3 separate regions of the Homo sapiens genome follow, and regions 2 and 3 are each linked to region 1. The links are contacts of gene promoters, found by promoter capture Hi-C in blood cells and fetal thymus (Javierre and others, 2016). All regions are on one chromosome and are shown on one strand. Each heading gives the region's core, a stretch centred on a gene start or on the middle of the fragment in contact. The rest is flanking DNA. Distances are from core to core; before and after follow the strand shown.

Region 1 (4,517 bases), core at 745-3,244:
AATACAAAAATTAGCCCGGAATGGTGGGGTGCATCTGTAGTCCCAGCTACTCGAAGGCTGAGGCAGGAGAACTGCTTGAACCTGGGAGGCGAAAGTTGCAGTGATAAGAGATCGGCCACTGCACTCCAGCCTGCGCGACAGAGCTGGGAGAAAGGGAGACTAAGTCAGCATAAATGGAGTTACTTTTGGTGAAAGCAAAGTGTTAAGTTTCCCTGACTTTACCGCAGATAAGGGATTGACACCTAAATACCCTTATCTGCAGTAACGCCAGGGACCTTAAGAATGCTCTGAAGGAAACATTACAGGTCCAGTCAATTTGATATTACATGTGTGCACACAACAATATCCCAGATACCTGGAGACTACCATCTTTTCTATGTTCTTCTAGTTTCTATCCAAAAATTTGGACCTGCTACAAAGTCAAGCACACAGAAACACTCTGGGAGAGGGAAAGAGCTGGGGGATTAGAGGACAAGCGGACATACCCCTCCCTGCAAATGGGGGGGGGGGGCTATCCTGACGCGGGGGTTAAAGTGTTCGCTGTCTAAAGGATTCCTCCCACTCTGATCGATGGCCTTTAAGTATTTCAAAAGGTCATTCCAAGCTGCAAGGCCAATACCGTCTTGAAAAGGGACCTTAGAGGTCTCACTGCTCTCCACAGGGGTGGGACCCTTTCCAGAAGGCTTCCATAACTCTCCACCCCTTTTCAGGGAGAGGGCACTCGCACGGGCGTCCCCTGCACCATGCCCGGGCCGTTACCTCGCTTGAATTCCTCCAGGACAGCGTCCAGCTTGGTGTCGTTGAAGACGAAGTGGAGCGGATGGTTGTAGAAACGAGTGATGGTGCTGAGCGGCGTGCAGTCTTCGGGATCCACGAAGGCCAAGTCCTTGAGGTAGAGCATGTCCACGATGTTGGAGCGCTCCTCCTCGTACACCGGGATGCGCGTGTGGCCGCTCTGCATGATGCTGGCCAGGACGCCGAAGTCCAGCACGGTGCTGGCGTCCAGCATGAAGCAGTCTTCGAGGGGCGTGAGCACGTCCTCCACGGTCCGGCAGCGCAGCACGCCCTTGCTGAGATCGCTGTAGGGGTCGCCGCCGCCGCGCGCCAGCTCCAGCACCCGCTCCCGCAGCCGCCCGGGCCGCGCCGCCAGCTCCAGCAGCTGCCCCACGGGCAGCGCGACGGGCAGAGTGAGCAGGACGGCCAGGCGGCTGAGGCCGAGCGCTCGCGGCGCCAGCGCCAGCGTCCAGCGCCCGCTCACGGCGGCCGGCACCACCTCTCCCACCAGGAACACGAGCCCCGCGCTGCCCAACACGGCGGGCACCGCACGCTGGCCGGCCGCGCGGTACAGCAGCACCGCCAGCGCCGCCTGCGCCAGGCTGGCCAGCAGCAGCAGCGCGCCCAAGGCGCAGCCGGCCCAGCGCCGCGCGGGCTCCAAACGCCGCGCCGCCGCACGCTCCGCCTCCGAGCCGCTCTCGCGCAGCACCTGCACCTCGGCAGGCGCCAGCGCCAGCGCGCTCAGCTGCAGGCCTCGCGCCAGCGCTGCCAGCGCCAGCAGCCCGGCCGCCCCCAGGCCCAGAGCCCAGGGCGGCGCCGCCTCCTCAGCCGCCCCGCCACCCGGCTCCACGCGCACCGCCAGCAGCGCCGAGTGCGGGCGCACGGCCTCGGCCCGCAGGCGCAAGCGCAGCAGCGCGCGCCACTCGCCCGCGGGGGAGGCCGCCTCCTCCCGGCAGCCCGCCCCCTCCGGGGCCACCCAGGACCAAGAGCTGTTGGCGAAGCCCGGGCCGAAGAGGCGCAGGAGGAAGGTGGCGTCCGGCGTGTCCCGCGCCGCCCCTCCGCGTACCCAACCCGCGCCCGCCGCTCCATCCTCCTCCAGGCAGAAGCCCAGCACTCGCGGGCCCGGCGCGGCCTCCCCCGCGGCGTTGCCCAGGCAGAGCGCGGCGAACAACCAGCCTAACCGACCCGCCGCAGCTACCGCCGCCGCCATCGCCTGCTGCCCCCTCTCGGCCTCTCGCGCAGCCTACCCCGCTCGCCCCGCGCCTCCCCGGGCCAATCGTTACGGCTCTTCGCGCCTCCTCGGCCAATAGGCGGTGGGCGGGGGCGGGCCCCAGGGTCGGACTAGGCTGCGCCGGGGAGTAAACAAGTGGCGGCCAGGGGCGGGCCGGGGGCGTGGGGCTCCGGGCCCCGCCGAGTCTGCTGCGGCTCCGGATGCGCGGGGTGGCAGTGGCCGGGAGGACGCGGGGCGGCGGGCAGGGCCTCCCAAGCCCGGCTGTCCTCGGCCCGTGCGCGGCGCCCGGAGTCCCACTCCTCCCGATGCTGTCCCCCGCGCCCGGAGGCCGAGCCAATTCTCTGGGAAGTTCCCGGCTTGGGAGCGGAGCGGCCGGTCGGAAGAACCTCGGGTGCTGGCGCGCCTGAAGTTGCAGACCAGACTGAAATGTGCGAGACATGTGCCTTTTTCTTAGGAAAGGCCCCAGGTACCAGAAAGGTTTTCAGCGCGCCGACCTACGGGGCTAAGAGGGCTGAAATAAGAACCAGTGACTGAGCGCCGGGAGGTTTAAGGTTTATGGAAGATGTTCATCGCGCCGTACCCTACTAGAGGTTTGGGGACGTGGGACACAGCCCCTGCGTTCCCGCCGCGGACCCCGTGATAAATACACAGACACACAAAATCACTACCGCCTTGAATCTGGACAGCTACCTCAGGTGGTTAATATCTAACAGGAGCAGAGTGGAGCTCAGAAAGACTCAGCGTGGGTGCTGGGTTCCGGCGCGACCAGCCTGATACCTAGGTCAGCATCTCAGCCACACAAGCAGGCGGCAGTTCTGTCAGGAATTACTACATCTGGTGATTCCACTTCTCATAGCTCACCGCTGGGAGAATAATTCCTCAGGATTAACAAGATCTATTCCAGAGGATCCTCACTGCTGAAGCGATTTTAGAAGACAGTGTGGTCTGTTGACAGTATGGAATATTCTTTACCCATCAGATATGATCTGTATGTGATTGGAAGGAAATAAACCAACTGCTAACAACACTTCTCTATAGATGTTCAGATTCAGTAATTTTTGTATTTTTCTCTACACTTTTGTTTTTTCAAATTTCCTAGCACAAGAAGACTTTGACTTACTGCACATGTCATTTTAAATGACCTTTATAAAGACTCTATAGAAACAATTTGCTATGTCATGAAAGTAACAATCAAAAAAAGTATGCACATTGTGGCCACAAAGTAAAACTTGTGTGGAAGGTAATGTGCAAAAAAAAAAAAAAATGAGTAAGCTGGTGGTGAGTGACCAAAGGAAAAGGCTTTGTAAAAAACTTTTTTTTTTTTTTTTGAGACGGAGTCTCGCTCTGTCACCCAGGCTGGAGTGCAGTGACGCAGTCTCGGCTCACTGCAAGCTCCGCCTCCCGGGTTCACGCCATTCTCCTGCCTCAGCCTCTCCGAGTAGCTGGGACTACAGGCGCCCGCCACCACGCCCGGCTAATTTTTTTGTATTTTTAGTAGAGACGGGGTTTCACCGTGGTCTCGATCTCCTGACCTCGTGATCCACCCACCTTGGCCTCCCAAAGTGCTGGGATTACAAGCGTGAGCCACCGCGCCCGGCCTGTAAAAAACTTTTTAAAAGATGGTAATAGCTGGCCGGGCACGGTGGCTCACGCCTGTAATCCCAGCACTTTGGGAGGCGGAGGCGGGCGGATCACGAGGTCAGGAGATCGAGACCATCCGGACTAACATGGTGAAACCCCATCTGTACTAAAAATACAAAAAATTAGCCAGGTGTGGTGGCGTGCACCTGTAGTCCCAGCTACTCGGGAGGCTGAGGCAGGAGAATGGTGTGAACCCGGGAGGCGGAGCTTGCAGTGAGCTGAGACCACGCCACTGCACTCCAGCCTGGGCGACAGAGCAAGACTATGTCTCAAAAAAAAAAAAATGGTAATAGTGGCCCGGCGCGGTGGCTCATGCCTGTAATCCCAGCACTTTGGGAGGCTAAGGCGGGCACATCACGAGGTCAGAAGATGGAGACCATCCTGGCTAACACGGTGAAACCCCGTCTCTACGAAAAATACAAAAAATTAGCCGGGCTTGGTGGCGGGTGCCTGTAGTCCCAACTACTGAGGAGGCTGCGGCAGGAGAATCGCTTGAACCCGGGAGGCAGTCGGAGGTTGCAGTGAGCCAAGATCGCACCACTGCACTCCAGCCTGGGTGACAGAGCGAGACTCCATCTCAAAAAAAAAAAGGTAATAGTGTATTTTTAAAAGATGGTAATAGTGTCTCTTCTGCATTGTAAACTCAGAGCTGTGACTAGGCCAATGGGGCATCTCCGTGTTTTTTATTATTCAGGTGATGTTCTGTGCCCTTTGAGTTTACCTTACTTTTGCAGATTACAGAGTAAGCCGCCAGCAGAAGCAATAAAGACATTACTGGGCCTTTGCACTGCAACATCATGCCTCTGAAGAAAAAAAAAGTGCAAACATTACAATAGATTCAGCTCCTTTAGTTCTCACTTCTGTCTCCACG
Region 2 (4,517 bases), core at 929-3,428, 110 kb after region 1:
GGGAAGACATGAAATGCAGTCCCCACCTGCCTTGGGGTCCTTTAGAGAAATGTATGGTGCAAGAAAACCACCTGACCTGGCATAGGATGCCCTGCTTTGGTTCTTGCTTTTTGTTCTAGAAACAAATGTTTCCCATCATGAATGGGTGGAATGTTGTCCTGGGCAGTGTCATCCTAGCTGTGCTAGAGGAGGGAGATGCCTGGTCCGTGGTAGGGCTGTTCTGTACATGCATGCTGTGGGTGAGAGCCAGTGCTTCGGCTTGCTGCTTACCCATAAGGGCCACTTCTCACAATCACCCTTTCCCTCCATTGCCCTCTGATTCCGAGCCTCTTAGCATGAAGAGACCCTGTGGACTAGAGGTGGTATATAAAGATGACATCACTCCCTGTCCCTGTGAGTCTTGTCTGAAGGGCTGGCATCTTCAGCCTTTCATGTTGTCTTCAGCGCCCCCAAATTACAAGATGGCTCTCTGTTATAGAACTTGTTTATTTCAGTGGAAAATTACAGCTCTGCTCGTCTTGTTGAAAGTGATTTCTGAACACAATAGCCAGAATATTCCTAGCATCTTGCATATATTCTAGAAGATAGAAACAAAGAACTGGTAGCCAGCCCAAGGGGAGGGCTGTTGGTAGCAGGAGGAAAGCCAGGCAGCATGGACTAATTAGTCTCCTGGGGCTGGAAGTTCTGGGAAAATATCACTCAGGTGATTTGTGGGTCCTGGGTGGAGTTTCCACTCATGGTCTATTGTAGGCTTTAGGTTTGGATCCTGGGTGGGAAGGATGGAAGAGCTGGCGTTGCTGGTGTTTAGTGAATTGATGATATTGAATATTTTAATGGGAGGATACAGCTGAAGTTGAGGTTTGATCCAGCTCATGGCCAAATAGTGCTAGAGAGAACAGACAACAGTTAGCCTGGGGTGGCAAGCTGAAGACGCTGTCCCCAGAGTCATCCCGAGACCACCTTTGTCCTTGCCCCCATGGCTGCCACTCACCGGAGCTGAATAGATGAAGTTAAACAGCATAAGTGCTATAATCGATATGACCATAAAGGCTATGAGTTTGAAGCGATAGCGTTTCCAGAAAATATAGCAGAAGTTTTGAACTGGTGACCGCAGCCACGTGAAAGAGGTGTTGGTGCGTCTGTCCAGGAGCCAGGGAGATGTCAGAGAATGGCAGGGAGAACCTTCAGGTCAAGTAATCTGATGCAAAGAGCTTTCTTTTTTAAAAAAGCAACTACTGGGCCAGGCACAGTGTCTCACGCCTGTAATCCCAGCATTTTGGGAGGCCGAGGTGAGTGGATCACCTGAGGTCAGGAGTTTGAGACCAGCCTGGCCAACATGGTGAAACCGCGTCTCTACTAAAAATACAAAAATTAGCCGGGCATGGTGGCATGTGCCTGTTATCCCAGCTACTCAGGAGGCTGAGGCAGGAGAATCGCTTGAACCCAGGAGGCAGAGGTTGCAGTGAGCAGAGATTGTGCCACCACACTCCAGCCTGGGTGACAGAGTGAGACAATTATCTCAAAAAAAAAAAAAAAAAAAAAAAGGCAACTTTTGCTTACTCCAACCCTCACCCCAAGTCTGTTCTTTGCTGATTGTAACTGAGCACAGAGCTGTGGGGTGGGAGGTAATTACCACCTCTCCATGATAGGCCCACTGGTCACCACCCCATACACACTGAGGAGCAAGAAAGATCTGGTGCTTTTGCCCCAAGGACCCTTACAGGGGAGGATGAAGTGTGGGGTACTGGTTGGGTTCCGACTGGCCTCGCCCGGCTGGCTTGATTAAGGCTTCCTTCTCTGACAGAATCTCCAGGCTCATCTTCACCTTGCCCTAGGAACACCATGGGTGAGGGGGAGGCTGAGTGCAGACAGCAGGAGCCGGGTAGTTTTAGGACCTCTTCCCGGGATCAAGAAAGGAAAAGGGATTTAGCTAGGTCCCTAGATGTCTGTTAGAGCCAGGACATGTGGCATAGCAGCCCTAATCAGTAGACACTCCCCAGCTCCTACCGACAAGCGCCATTTGCCACCATCGAGGACCTGGCAAGGCCACCAGCCAGTCACAGTCTTCTTCTTAAAGAGGGAGAAGTGCTTGTATTGGATGAAATAGGGCCACTTGGGGTCGGCGTCCATCATCCTGATGGAGCACTGCTTGGCGTGCCGAGCCGGGAGGGGCATGTCAGACAAATCCAGCTCCAGGACCCCTGAGCCCAGAAAAATGACATCAGCAAGAAGGAGCTCCCTGTCCTGTGGTCACAAGCCCTGTGTCAGGACCTCACCTAGGAAGTCGTCGGGGGAGAAGATGTCATTGTCCCAGACCTGGATGATAAGTCGGGCTGGGAACTTCATGGACGTGGCATCCAGGCTCCATATGTAATCCTGGGGAAATGGCGGAAGGGCGTGTTACCGGCCTGTCTCCTGGACGTTTCCCTTGCACCCCTCAGTGGCCCTCCACCCAGCAGTGATAGACTATCAAGGAAGAGGGTTTCCACCTGAGGACATGTTTCTGATGTTCTGGGACAGATTGCAAGCCTCTGGAGGGGTGGGGGGAGGAGCTCCAGGAGCCTGGGTCTGTTTGTTGTGGCCTGTTGCCCCTCACGCCCCAGGCCTGTTACCTTCTGGCTCTGGACACACGTGCGCTCCGCCGCCAGGTAGTCCATGGTAAAGATGAACCGCCAGTTGAAGTCGGCCTCCCCAGTCAGCGAGTGGTAGTGGATGTCTGTCTTCTGCATGTCCTTCTCCAGCCCGTATAACCACCTGGGGCCAGAGTCCTATCACCTGTGGCTCATGTGCATTGGCCCCATCCCCCAGCTGGAGCCCCATGGGAAGGGCTGCCCAGCCGACGCCAGGCAGAGCTGGATGGAGAGGTGTCCCATTCAGGACTGGGCCGTGCCAGCAGGATGACAGAACTGGGGAACTGAGGGGCTCTGCCGGAGCCTGACTCCTCTTCCCTACCCTTTGATGTAGATGTCGCTCGTCTTCTCTCTACTTAAATTGTCATCCACCAGGTCCACATTGGCAGTCTTCCAGATGATGCATCGCAGCTCATACCTGTGGCCACTGTGCTCTGAGGCTTTGCTGAGGAGGAGCTCCCCAGCTGCAGCCTCAGTGAGGGCAGAGAAGCCTGGGAGGCTGCCCTGTGTGTTTTTGCTCAGTGTGGGGAATTCAGGGGAAGAAAGCTCCCAGTAGAGCTTCCTCTCTTCCCAATAGAGAAACGAATTACTGCAGCTCAGTACCTGAGGACAGTGGTGCCCTGCACTGGGGGAGTTCTGAACTGTGAAATGCAGCAGTTGGGAAGTGGGCTGTCACTCACCGTTTAGGCTTTCTGGGGTTGATGTTGACTTGGGGGCCAGGAGGCCCCAGCTTCTTGGGGAAGATGTCCACCCACATTTGCACCTTTCCCTAGAGCCGGGATACATTGACTGGTTGGGGGTTGCTAGCCTCTGTTCTCAGCAGGCTGGCCTGGGGTTCCCTGTCCCAGGTTCTGAGGTCTGTTGAGGTTGTGTTCCCAACACCGAGGGGTGGGGTACAGAGATATCTGTGAGGCCGCAGGTGACCACGCACCAGCTTCCCCCTTTCTTTTGGCTGAGAGAGTAGTGCAGGGAGATTGGGACACGGTAGCTTTGGGGCTGATGGCATGGTGCTGGGATTCCACTTACGACAGGTCTGGAGGGTGAATGCCACTCCCTAGGTCATGCTAGATGGCCTGTCTGGACAGGGGTCCAGATCGGAGTTGGGGCATCATTTATCAAGCAGCTTGGTGTTGCTTGATAGCCTCGAGTATGAGGAAACTAGATACCAGTCCAGATTTTCAGGTCATTTTATGTTATGAACTACAACCTAAGGGTATTAAGCTAGCCACACATACAGAGGAAAGAAGGTAAGGGATGAGAAGGAGGAGAAAAGGAAAGAAAAGGGGAGAACTGCCAACATTGAAGAATACACAAATACGTTCTGCCTTTCAGACCACCTGACCTCATTATATTCTTCTGAAGTTGACCCATTTGAGAAAACAGGTTTAATGGGAATGGTTTTTTATTTGTTTTTTGAAACAGAGTTTCCCTCTGTCACCAGGCTGCAGTGCAGTGGCATGATCTCAGCTCACTGCAGCCTCTGCCTCTCAGGCTCAAGCGATTCTCGTGCCTAAGCCTCCTGAGTAGCTGGGATTACAGGCACCCACCACCATGCCCAGCTAATTTTTGTATTTTTAGTAAAGAGGTTTTGCCATGTTGGCCAGGGTGGTCTCAAACTCCTGGCCTCAAGTGATCTGCCCGCCTCAGCCTCCCACAGGCTGGGATTACAGGCGTGAGCCACTGCACCTGGCCTGTGGGAATGGTTTTTTAAAAATTTTGCTCAGCAGAGGACTTTCTGTCTGGAATGTGGTATGAGCTTGAGAAGTTTAGAGAATGAGATGAGCCATTATGGTGGCTGCAGAGTGAATGATAATTAGGTGCGTTTGGGGATTTTTATTTCTCTGTTTGGGGTTATTTGCTGTGAAGAAGACACAGCCTACAATTAAC
Region 3 (4,517 bases), core at 1,008-3,507, 100 kb before region 1:
GGTTGTTTTTCTCACACATACACACAATAAACCTCACTCTTTTCACAGCTGCATAGTATTTCCCTAGTGTGTGTGCCACTGTAGTCTCCTAATGTAGCAGGGCGACCACAGTCCAGAACCCCTCAGACACCAAGTTGTGGAAGGAAAGGGCTTTATTCAGCTGGGAGCATTGACGGGCTCACGTCTCCAAAAACCGAGCTGCTTGAGTCAGCAATTCCTGTCGCTTTTAAGGGCTTACAACTCTAAGAGAGCCCGCGTGAGAGGGTCGTGATCGATTGAGCAAGCCGTGGGTACGTGACTGGGGGCTGCATGCACTGGTAATCAGAATGGAACAGAACAGGACAGGGTTTTTCACAGTGCTGTCCCGTGTAATGTCTGGAATCTATAGATAACATAAACCGGTTAAGTCAGGGGTCAGTCTGTAACTACCAGGCCTGGAACGCAGCACTGGGCTGTCTGACTACTGATTTCATTTCTTTCTTTTCTTTAACTCCTACTTTTTCTTTGAGGCAGAAATTGGGCATAAGATAACATGAGGGGTGGTGTCCTCCCTTACTAATACTGGACATTCTTCCAGTGACTGTTTAGTGTCTGTGCAGATATTTCTATGAGATAAATTCCTTGATGTGAAATTGCAACCCTAAAGTATGTAAAGCTGGACCTATTAGTAACACCACCAAATAGGTATGAAAGTGCATATTTTTCTGCATTCTCATTAATACTACATATTCCCAGTTTTGTTTTTGAGTTTTAGTCAATCTGGTGAGTGGAAAACATCATCCTGTGGTTCTAATTTTCATTTCCCTGATTGCCAGTGAAACTGAGTATCTTTTCATGTATTTATTGGCCTTTTGTGTTTCTCTTACTGTAAATTACCTTTTGGTATTTCTTACCCACTTTCCTATCAGTTAATTTATCTTCTTATCAACTCTGTTGATCTTCATGTTGCTTATTATGTTACAGTATGTTTTCTCCAAAGGTTATATAGATTGTCCTTTTTAAATCTTTATGTATGGTACCTTTCAGTGAACTGGAATTTTTTTTCTTTTTTTTTTTACTTTTTCAGTCCTTTTTTTTTTTATTTTAGAATAGATTTAGATTTACAGGACAGTTTTATGGATAATGCAGAGAATTGATTGGGATTTTTGTGTAATGTAATCTTTCCATGTGGAAGACGAAGGGTTTCCCCACCAAGACCATAAAGATAGTGTGCTTTCTTCTCTTTCAGGACTGGCTTTACTTTGTGTCCATCAGCTCTTAATCCCAACTCAAATCTGTTTGTCCTTGGTATGAGAGAAGGATCTAACTTGATTTTTTCCATCCCCAAACAGCCAGTGGGGACCCAACGTCAATTTTTCTGCCTTTTGTTTTGTTTTTTGAGAGAGGGTCTCACTCTGTCACCCAGGCTGGAGTGCAGTGGTACCATCATGGCTCACTGCAGCCTCGACCTCTTGGGATCAAGTAATCCTCCTGCCTCAACCTCCTTAGTAGCTAGGACTACAGACAGATGCCAACACACCCATCTAATTTTTAAATTTTTAGTAGAGACAAGGTCTCCCTATGTTGTGCAGGCCGATCTCAAATCCCTGGGCTGAAGTGATCTTCCCACTTCAGCCTCCCAAACTGCTGGGATCACGGGTGTGAGCCACCATGCCTCAGCTTTTTGGTCTTAATAATTCATCCTTTCAAGACAGATTTGAAGCTACCTTCTCCATATCCTAAGTTTATGACTTCACTCCTTCATCTGCTAGCCATGTTAAACTGTGATTTCATGAATCAGTGTCTTTTGTGGAATCTGTGGGTAGCTCCAGGGCCCATGGCAATTGCCCTTTAAATGCCAGGAAATGAATGAAACAGAGCATCTTGCGCCTGCCTTTCAGGCAGCCACGTCAGCAGGGTGATGCTTTGTGCCAAGAGCTTTACTAGGAAGGAGGGTGCCTTATCGGGATCAGTGTTATTGATTTTATTTTTCTAAATAGATAAAAGCATTCAAATAAAACAAAATTCGTAAGGTACCAAGGAGTACCTTTTTGAAAGTACTCCTTTCAAATTTGATGTTGAAAATGCGCTTCTTCCCCTGAGCCAGAGCCACCTGGCTGGCCGCCAGCCTCTGTCTGCGTGTGCACGTACCCGCCGTTTCCGCACCTTCTTTGCTCTTCAGGGTGTGTTCTGGCCGTCATCCCTGATTGGGTTGTAAAGGGCTCCTAATTCTTTTTTCCTGCCGCGTTGTACTCACTGTGGGTCTTCAGTGAGCTGCTGCTCCACTGTGCTTCCCGCGGCGGCCACAGAGCTTACTGGCTGCCTTCACTGGTGGCTGCCCCACTGGGCTCTGTGCCCAGACTGACCCCAGGAAGAAGGGCAGATTGGTGTACGAAGGGCTGTCACACTCTTTGTCTGCTCGACTGACTGGTTAAGCACAAAGCGAGAACTCCTGCTGACACTCATGCAGTACACCCGCAGCCCCTGCCTCAGCGTTCAAGACTTCATGGGATGCACTGCAAATGTAAGGAAGAGCTGGGCCTAACCATGAAAAATGAAAGTGAATACTAAGGCAGACCACCTGAAACAGAGCCAAGGGGAAGAGGAGGTTCTTGGAGGAACATCCACCTTGGGAGGTGGCGCCATTGGGGCAGCTCAGGCAGCTTTGGGAAGAGCAGCATGCCATCCCCACTTCTGTTCAGGGCTCCTGCAACTGCTTGCACTCTACTGAAAGCTGATGTCCCAGGCTCTGGGGATCCTCTTCCTTCACTGCCTGCGGCTATTCATTAAACATCCTGTGTGCGCTGCTTCAAAGCAGAAGGTCAGATGAAGCCAGCTCCCGCAGGCTGCCTGGTCAGATGGAGGAATGGACAAAGCCTGCGTAAAACGGCTCACGAAACCAGCCCTGACAATGACGTAGAGTTCCTTGCCTGGCAGACCAGAATCAATCCGAAAGGACAGTGCTGCCCAGTGTTGGCAGGATGTGAGGAAACAGGCATATGCTTCCCTGCTCATGAGATGCGGTCAGTAGTCCCTCTGGAGGCCAGTTTGGCAAAATCAAGCAAATGACTTTAAAATGTGCACACCCTTCAAAAAGCTAGATCGTTTTCTGGGGAACTAGATGGCAAAGATTCATTGACAAGGATGTTTGGCATAGCAATGTCATGATAGTGAAGAACTGGAAATTGCCTCAGTGCCCCACCATCGATTCAGTTCTGCCCGTGCTACGGAGTATTATATGGTACCTAAAAATGATGTCACAGGAAAATGGGAAAGTTAATGAAATACGCTGAGTGGAAAAAAGGCTTTGAAGCCATATGTAAAGTGTGATGCCAATTCTGTTTAGGGGAAAAGAAAGGCCATCTTTGGGTGTGAGGTTAATAGGAGTGTTTTTGGTTGCCTAGGGCTTATTTCCCCCTTTCTTTTTTTCTTTTTCTTTTTTTTTTTTTCCCACTCTGTCGCCCAGGCTGGAGTGCAATGGCACAGTCTCAGCTCACTGCAACCTCCGCCTCCCGTGTTTAAGCGATTCTCCTGCCTCAGCCTCCCAAGTGGCTGGGACTACAGGTGCGTGCCACCACACCCAGCTAATTTTTGTATTTTTAGTAGAGACGAGGTTTCTCCATGTTGGGCAGGCTGGTCTTGAACTCCTGACCTTGTGATCTGCCCGCCTCGCCCTCCCAAAGTGCTGGGATTATAGGCGTGAGCCACCGTGCCCATCCTCTTATTTCCCCTTTCTAAAGACCCTGTCGGCCTCCAAGCTCCTGCTCTTACCCCCACAGCCAGTTCTCACCAATTAGCCAGAATCACTTCTATTTAATAAGTTTTTAAAGTTTTGTTGGCTGGGTGCGGTGGCTCACACCTGTAATCCCAGCACTTTGGGAGGCCGAGGTGGGTGGATAACTTGAGGTCAGGAGTTCAAGACCAGCCTGGCCAACATGGTGAAACCCCGTCTCTACTAAAAATAGAAAAAAAAAAAAATTAGCTGGGCATGGTGGCATGCACCTGTAATCCCAGCTATTCAGGAGGCTGAGACAGGAGAATCATTTGAACCCGGGAGGCAGAGGTTGCAGTGAGCCGAGATTGTGCCATTGCACTCCAACCTAGGAGGCAGAGTGAGACTTCGTCTCAAAAAAAAAAAAAAATTTGGTTATAGATAATTTCAAGACATATACAAACGTTGAGAGGCTAGTAAAATGGACTCCATGTACCCATTTTCCATCTCAGCAAACACAGCCGTGGAGACTCCTCCTTCCCTCACCCATTGCCCCCCACCCCTGCCCCACATCATTGTGAATCAGAGCAAATGATTAGACTTATTTTATTCAGTACGTGTCTCTAAAAAGATAAGGTCTTGGTGGTTTGTTTGTTGTTGACAGAATCTCTTTCGCCGAGGCAGGAGTGCAGTGGTGCCATCCAGGCTCACTGCAGCTTCGACCTCCTGGGCTTAAGTGATCCTCCTGCCTCAGCCTCCCGAGTAGCTGGGACTACAGGCATGCACCATCCCACCTAGCTAACTTCTTTAAGTTTTTGTAGAGACA

The links. The method cuts DNA at HindIII sites, captures the fragments that hold promoters and counts their contacts. A CHiCAGO score of 5 or more calls a contact.
Region 2: a contact is called between a fragment that was not itself captured here and the fragment with the promoter of CNNM3 in region 1, in 2 of 17 cell types (M1 macrophages and naive B cells). The highest score is 5.4, in M1 macrophages.
Region 3: a fragment that was not itself captured here is called in contact with the fragment with the promoter of CNNM3 in region 1 in 6 of 17 cell types (activated CD4 T cells, total CD4 T cells, naive CD8 T cells and 3 more); the score reaches 6.5 in activated CD4 T cells.

The regions. Positions count from the first base shown.
Region 1 is chr2:96,813,745-96,818,261 of GRCh38, reverse strand. CNNM3 (cyclin and CBS domain divalent metal cation transport mediator 3) reads right to left here and starts at 1,994. Exons shown (of 8, transcript NM_017623.5): 1 at 760-1,994. The coding sequence starts at 1,984. RefSeq lists silencers at 1,138-1,247, 1,258-1,397, 1,408-2,387 and an enhancer at 2,728-2,847. The HindIII fragment of the contact is 9,370 bases long and covers 1-4,517 here.
Region 2 is chr2:96,700,837-96,705,353 of GRCh38, reverse strand. It overlaps FER1L5 (fer-1 like family member 5), which reads right to left. Exons shown (of 53, transcript NM_001293083.2): 46 at 3,311-3,399; 47 at 2,953-3,048; 48 at 2,613-2,754; 49 at 2,277-2,376; 50 at 2,008-2,201; 51 at 1,722-1,831; 52 at 992-1,139; 53 at 471-886. The coding sequence ends at 662. Among named protein-coding and RNA genes, the nearest start is that of LMAN2L, 37 kb to the left of the region's middle. The HindIII fragment of the contact is 6,205 bases long and covers 1-4,517 here.
Region 3 is chr2:96,914,717-96,919,233 of GRCh38, reverse strand. All of the region lies in intron 12 of FAM178B (family with sequence similarity 178 member B), which reads left to right. It overlaps LOC101927053 (a long non-coding RNA gene), which reads right to left and starts at 128. Exons shown (of 3, transcript NR_110209.1): 1 at 1-128. The HindIII fragment of the contact is 8,021 bases long and covers 1-4,517 here.